2 separate regions of the Homo sapiens genome follow, and region 2 is linked to region 1. Evidence: promoter capture Hi-C in 16 types of primary human blood cells and fetal thymus (Javierre and others, 2016). All regions are on one chromosome and are shown on one strand. The core of a region is centred on a gene start or on the middle of the fragment in contact, and the rest is flanking DNA. Distances in the headings are between cores, read along the strand shown.

What was found. Contacts are between HindIII fragments. The CHiCAGO score rates a contact against its expected background, and 5 or more counts as called.
Region 2: a contact is called between a fragment that was not itself captured here and the fragment with the promoter of CNTNAP2 in region 1, in 1 of 17 cell types (megakaryocytes). The highest score is 6.2, in megakaryocytes.

The regions. Positions count from the first base shown.
Region 1 is chr7:146,114,566-146,118,314 of GRCh38, reverse strand. CNTNAP2 (contactin associated protein 2) reads right to left here and starts at 1,514. Exons shown (of 24, transcript NM_014141.6): 1 at 1,342-1,514. The coding sequence starts at 1,438. The HindIII fragment of the contact is 7,089 bases long and covers 1-3,749 here.
Region 2 is chr7:148,139,971-148,143,325 of GRCh38, reverse strand. The region is part of intron 16 of CNTNAP2 (contactin associated protein 2); the gene reads right to left. Among named protein-coding and RNA genes, the nearest start is that of C7orf33, 450 kb to the left of the region's middle. The HindIII fragment of the contact is 2,563 bases long and covers 529-3,091 here.

The DNA.
Region 1 (3,749 bases), core at 265-2,764:
TGCTATACAATGTTTTCAAGTTCATTACAAACTTAGATTGCCAGTTAGTTTATCTCCTTATCTTTACACATTGTGGGAAAAGAAAAGCTAATACTGTACTTAGGAAGATATGTCAAAACAGTAATACTGGCTCATAACCGGATATTATATAGTAGATTCCTTATTACAACTTATAATGTCCTTTTTCAATGCTATTCCTGTTGATATTTACCACTACAATAAGATCATTATTAACAAAGATGCATTAATACATCCCAAAATCTTAGAAACAAAGACTACTTCGCATATGACGAATTCTGGAAAATATTAAACTTTTCTTTTCCTAAATGGACAAAAAAATCTTCCTTTTAAACTCTGAAATCTCCACGATAATTCTTTATCAACTTACTCATTCTCAGAAACTAGTATGCGCTTATGAATATTATCCTAAGATTCCTATAGGCAGTCTTTCTAGTGTTTAACTCTTTCTGAACCAAAGGAACAATCATGCATTTCCTCTCTACATGCACAGTATGCACTTCTAAAGGAATGCAGAAAATGGGCCAGAATCTTCCATTTCTTTCTAAACCTCATGAAAACAGGGGCAGTCTTAAACACACACACACACAAACACACACACACAGTTGATTAAAATGCAGAGATATACATATTGAATATAATTATTTTCCTGAAAACCCTATTAAGAATCTGTTTATTACTACATTAACGACGCTTTGCACTGAGTGTCCCAAGTACCGTACTGCATCAGTCATATCCATGATATCAAAGTATCAAAGAATTAAAGCAATTTCAGTTACAATTTCGCTGCCTTCCATTTTAATAAGCAAGTACTAAATGGGCATTAACTTTTTAAGGGAACGGGAGAGGTTAAAGAGACCCTATAGGTGCCCAAACTGTTTAAAACATGCTCCTCTTGTTAACCTCAACCCCGTGCTCATTAAGTTATAACCATAAATAAAAATAAGAAACTTGGTTTTGCCATGGTCTTCACTTTTCATTCACTGACCTACCTAAGCCAAATGCAGTTAACTCTCCCTGCACAAACAACTCCTAAGAAGCTGCCATCTACATCAGTCTCTCTAGCCAAGCTCTTGCCAACCGATCACCAAGACCAGGAACAACTTTCCAGAAACATCACCAGCGTCACAACCCTGTCTCTTCCAAAACAGAAACGCTGGGTTTCGAGTTTGTCTACTGCAGTGGCTGCAAGTGTGTGACAGCGGAGACACAAACACATCAGGGTGCCAGCACTGCGATGCACTTCGGAGTTGATACCCTGGTGCCAAACATCAATGCCGCACTGAAACTGCTCCAGAGCAGAGCGAGGAGACGGCTACTTACGGGACGTGGAGGGAGCCGTCCAGGCTCTGCAGAGGCAGCTGCTGACAATCCACAGCAGGAGCGCTGCCCCGCAGCCGGCGCGCGGAGCCGCCTGCATCCTTCGCCTCCCGGCCGGCGGCGCTCCAAGAGCTCGCTGCGGAGATGCAGTCCGACTCTCCGTAGGGTTCTTGAAGGGAGATGGGCTGTCCTCAAATACGCGAGGAAGCCAAGCCCCTCCCGCTTCCTCTTCTCCCCTCACCCCCCTCCAGGCTCCAGTTCTTCCGGGCTTGGAGCGGCAGGGGAGTCTCAGCCTTCGTTCTCCCTCCGTGCGGGTATTGCCTCTTGCACTGTGTGCCAGTGCAACGCCGGGGGAGGAAATTCAAACCAAGAAGGCAAAGGAGGGGGAAGAGGGGAGGGAACGGACACCTACCCCGCCCTCTCCTTCTTGAAAAAAAAAAATCACCAAAGGACGGGGGAGGGAGGTAATCAGAAGAGCAGAGGCTGCAGAAGAGGAAGGCAGAGCGACGGGGACGGTGGTGCAGCTGTTGCCACTGCGGGCGAGCGCTCCCTCCGCCGCCGGGCAGCGTGACTCGAGGGGTTTCCACTCGCCTGTCAGCTCACATGGAGAGCTTGTGTATGTGGGGAGCGCGCAGCGCAGCCGGGGCGCACGCACGGCCTCAGCGCTGCGCCGCGCGAGGAAGCATCTCCCGGGCGGCGGAGCGCGAGCAGCAGCAACAGCCGCGGAGAGCAGGAGACGCCGCCGCCGCCGCCGCCGCCGCCAGCTCCTGTGAGCCCGGGCGGCGAGCGAGGCGGAGGGAAGCCCTCCCTTCTCTTCCCTTCTCGGTTCCCTCCTCGGCTCCTCCTCCTCCTCCGCCTCCTCCTCCTCTTCCTCCTCCTTACCGTACCCCTCTGGCTGTCAAAACCCTTCTGCCCTGCCCTGGCCTCGTTTGAAAGCAAAAGGGAGACTGAGCCGACCGGCCGGGGTCCATCAGCTGGGGCGGGGGCGGAGCAAGGAGGCGCGCGCCTCTCCCTGGGCGGGAGGTGATGCTGTCCGCGGTGCTGAAGTTGGGGATTTGCCGTGTAATCCTAGAACCCTGCTCCAAACCTGGCTGCCCCCTACCCGGCTGCAGGAAGGAGAACACCCTCGCTCGGATGCCTTCTCCTTTCCTTCTCTCCTCCCCTTCAGATAAAGATGGTACAGGCTCCTGGAGCTCCGGCCCCCCGGGAACCACAGTCAGGCGTCCGACAGGCAGGTCTTCCGAGTGGTCCTAACACCAAGTGACGGTGCTAAACATCCCGACTGACTGGAGCAGGGAGGGAGGACTGCAGATGCCGTTAATGCACATGTTTTCGATATGTAATTAATTCGTACTCATACATATGCACACGTACACCAAACACACGCTGCTGCCAGGAGAAACTACACTTAGGCAAACACGCATACAAACACAAACACAAAACGGAAATACATAAGCAGGCATATGGGTAACTATTTCAAGGTACCTGAGGCATTGCAAGCACTAAGAATTAAGAATGTTTAGAGAGACCTAGATTTTTTCACATTTAGATAATTTTAATAATAATTATCAAGCTCTTCTCCCCAGCTCACAGCTCTTCACACTCTACCCTCCATATGTTTTTCTTCCATCTAGTCTACTTAAAGTATTTGAATTCTTATGTCTCTGCAGAGCCAAGCATTCCACTGACTTTATTGACACAATTAAAAATTATTGGTCATCTAAATATCTAATGATGTTTGTGGAGGACTAAGTAGGAGTAACCATGTCTTTCGATGTTATGCAATGAATAAGCATTTGCATTTAAAGATAAATAGAAAATTTATGGAGGCTTGCCTAATCCTGGAATAAACTGAGTTTTTAACATCATTGTTTGGTCTTAGAAAGGTCCACTGTAAATAGTACTGTGTATTCACTGCATAATTAATATGGTGTTAATGGGTCTGATTCAGCGCTTTTTATTTGATCTTTGTTTCTTGTTAATTTAAAAGGATGCTTTGTCCTAGTAAGAACTGCAGATTGGGTACAATATGGAAAATGAAGAAACACACAGATGACTAATGGGAGGTGAACTGCCTCCTCATTCTATAAAATACTCCTCCTGTAAAATAATACAGCAAATGCATTCTTATGGATTATAAAATGTCCCTTTGCTGTTTGAATTATCACAGACTGTCAAAAGTCAATGACCACTTGCCAAAACACTCCAGTAAAGAACTGCCATCAGCCATTTCTAAGAGCTCAAAGAAACAAGTCATAGGAAAAAAAAAAACTGTCAGAAAGCGTAACTTTTCAGAACAATCTATTATTTAACTATGCCTCTCCATTTTAACTATCATACTGAACTCCAATAACATAGCATTAAAGTATTTTCAATAGAAGAAAAAAGGCAGCGATTGAAAGTATTACCAT
Region 2 (3,355 bases), core at 561-3,060, 2.0 Mb before region 1:
TTGCTCAAGCCATTTTTATTGTAACTGAAAGCATCTTAACTGATATAGAGCCTCAGCTGTTTGGTCTTTTCACTTTTCACGCTTCAGGCCTCAGTTTGAGGTCCAAAGTGAGGATTATATCCATAGTTTCCCAAAAGTTCCTGTGTCCAAAATGTGTTTGAAACTACGGAGAACCTCTAAGGTTCTTTCAAATGGCAACATTCTATAATTTTTCAAGAGATTCTAAGAGAAATAAAATGAAATACAGCTGGTCTTAATGGTAATTTTAGATACTGAATCATTACAGGGAGAAAAGAGAAATACTAAAAGAGAAATACATAAGGTGGCATATTGCCATCAGAAAAGAATATAGGTGGAAGAAATTACTTTCTAATAAAGCAGGCTCATGACTTCATCTGAAAGGCTTAAAGTAATGATTGGGACAAAACCATGGAGAGCTCTTGGCATGTTCACGCTTCCCCTTCCAAGTGTAATTCCAGCAGGTGGCACTATTTGCTCTCATTCTAACTCAACAAATCACTCCAAGCTTAGTATATTGAGCGATAAATTTAACAACTGACCAATACCAGGTGTTTTTGGCTCTAAGTTTTCTCAGCAGGTGAGGGAGCATTTAGATATTAGACCACAGTTTCAGTTGAAGTAGCAGAAAAAATTTGGCCATTCAGTACAGAACAGGATAAGAGAAAAGAGAAGGAAAGTTATATAGCATGAGCATGATGGGCAGACCAGCTAACACTGTTTAGTTTTGGTAATGATACGTTTTTTCCATTCTAAAATAAGGTTCGAGGGGTGGCAGCTTCCTGGGGGATCTTCTGTACAATAAATCTCATTTGAGTCATACAACAAAACTGGTAATTGGTAGAACAGATATTTCAGCCTCACTCTATGGTGAACAGTGTTATCAATATCTTTTTTTGTTTCCTGTATTTTTTTTCTGAATGAAGTACTAACTGTACATCAGAAGATAAAAGGATTTATTTAACACGAAAGGGTCATGAGAAGAGGCAGGAAGGCTGAAAATAAGGTCGCCATGGGAATCAGAGAGATAAGGAGAAAGAAGTAAAGAGTTCATCTATGTTCCTAATTCAAGGCCAACTGCTGCACCTATACACGGGATGCCATCCTTCCTACCAGCTCAAGGACACCACTCTGACAATTCTCCCCTCCCTCTACAACTGGGTTGTTATACAAACACACACACACACACACACACACACACACACACACACACAGAGACATATCTCTACTCTTAACAACCACTGGCACTATAAAACCTTTCTTTTGACCTTATCTATCCCAAAAGTTACCATTTCATTTCTATGCACCCTTTTGTTTCCAAATTCCTTGAAAGAGATGTCTGTACTCCCCATATCTATTTCCACTCCTCTTAGTCTTCCTCTAATTCCACCACATAGGACTTTCTCCTTCACAACATTTGAAACTGCTCCTGCCCCAGGGCCTTAGAACTTGCTGTTCACTTTACCCAAATAACTCTGTGGCTGAGCGTTTACTTCTCTGCTCACAAGTCATCATATTAGAAACTCCATCCCTAAACATTCTATGTTAAATAACAAACTTCGCTCTCAGCTGTCCTTTCCCCTTTAATCCTGATTTTTAAAAAGTCTGCATAGCATGTATCACTATCTGGAATAATATATATGTGGTCCTGGCCTCAGGAAGGCAGAGGCATTTTCTGTTTTGTTCATTGTTCTCTCCTCAGCACTGAGAACATTGCCTGCCACACAGTAGATACCAATTTGTGAATGAATGAAAGGATGAATAGAAACTACTCCTGCCTAGGAAGGCAACAGTGATCACATGGATACTCTGAAAAGAGAAATCCACTCATTTTCCCAAGGCCAGCCGAACTAGATGGAGTTCCATCTTGTATTCCACAAGCATCTTTCCCAAGAGCACAAAGTAACTCAATGAATATTTTCTCAGTCTAAGAGCATGCTACATTAGTTATGTCTGTTTAAAACAAATGTAGCTAAACGTTATTTTCAAACATATGATGTTTGAGGACTAATGGCTTGCCCAAGATAAACTCACCAGTGGAATAAGAAGCAGAATTTTCTCCCTTTGCTTTATTGCATGCTAGTTTCACTCTACTTGTAGGAACAGGGACCTTGGATCTTAATTACAATTCTCAAGTTTTGGCCTACATAAAAAACTGCTAAAGGAAAATGCTTAAAATGCATATTCCAATGCTTCTGTTACAGAGAATCTGATTCAGTAGGTTTGGGGTGGGGCTTTGGAGTCTGCATTTTGTTAATGCCAGGTGATTCTGACGCAAGTGGTCCTGGAATCTTACTTTAAGAAACATTAGGAGTTTCAGGTTTCCTTCTAGTAGTAAGTCCTAGGAATCTTTGCTTTCTTGTCCTCAACAGAGAGATTTTCAGAACTGTGTAATAGAGAATTTAGCCTTGCCCTCAAGAGGTCTGGCCCTTGCCTTTGGCTTTGGGAAGGTAATATCTAAGCCCTTGGGATGTCCTGCCTGGTAAGCATGTCTTCATTTGCCTGGGAGCCTTGGGTTATTCCAGATAGTCTAACATTGTGTTTTAGGGGTAGGGCCACACCAGATGGCATTTAAGATGGGGCCTGGGCTGGGTGTGGTGGCTCATGCCTGTAATCCCAGCACTTTGGGATGCTGAGGCGGGTGGATCACCTGAGGTCAGGAGTTCGAGACCAGCCTGACCAACATGGAGAAATGCCATCCCTATTAAAAATACAAAATTAGCTGGGCGTGGTGGCAGATGCCTGTAATCTGGCTACTTGGGAGGCTGAGGCAAGAGAATCACATGAACCTGGGAGGTGGAGGTTGTGGTGAGCCGAGATGGTGCCATTGCACACTCCAGCCTGGGCAACAAGAGCGAAACTCTGTCTCAAAAAAAAAAAAAAAAAGAAAAAGAAAAAAGATGGGGCCTTACCATGCCAGATTGACCAACAATGTGATGAAGGGTGTGGGGCTTTGGCTTATATTCTCCAGCCTTCTGAGGGGCTGGAAACTGAGGTCAGCCATGTGGGCAATCAATCATTCCTATATAACGGAGTCTCAGTAAAGACTCTGAACATGGAGGCTCAGGAAGCTTCCCTCATTGGCAATACCCCATGCAAATTGTTACACACCCGTTCCAGGAAAGAAATGTGCTCCTGAATCTATATAGAGAGGTTGACTGTAAACTCAGCATCTGGTACTGTTCCTGGACTCTGCCATCTGTGCTTCTACCCCTGTCTGATTTTCACGTGCATTCTTCACCCATAATGCAGCATGAGTATAGCAGCCTTCGGCAGCAGAATTCAGTGAATTCTGTGAGTCCTTCTACAGAACTATCAAACCTGGGGGTGGTTTGGG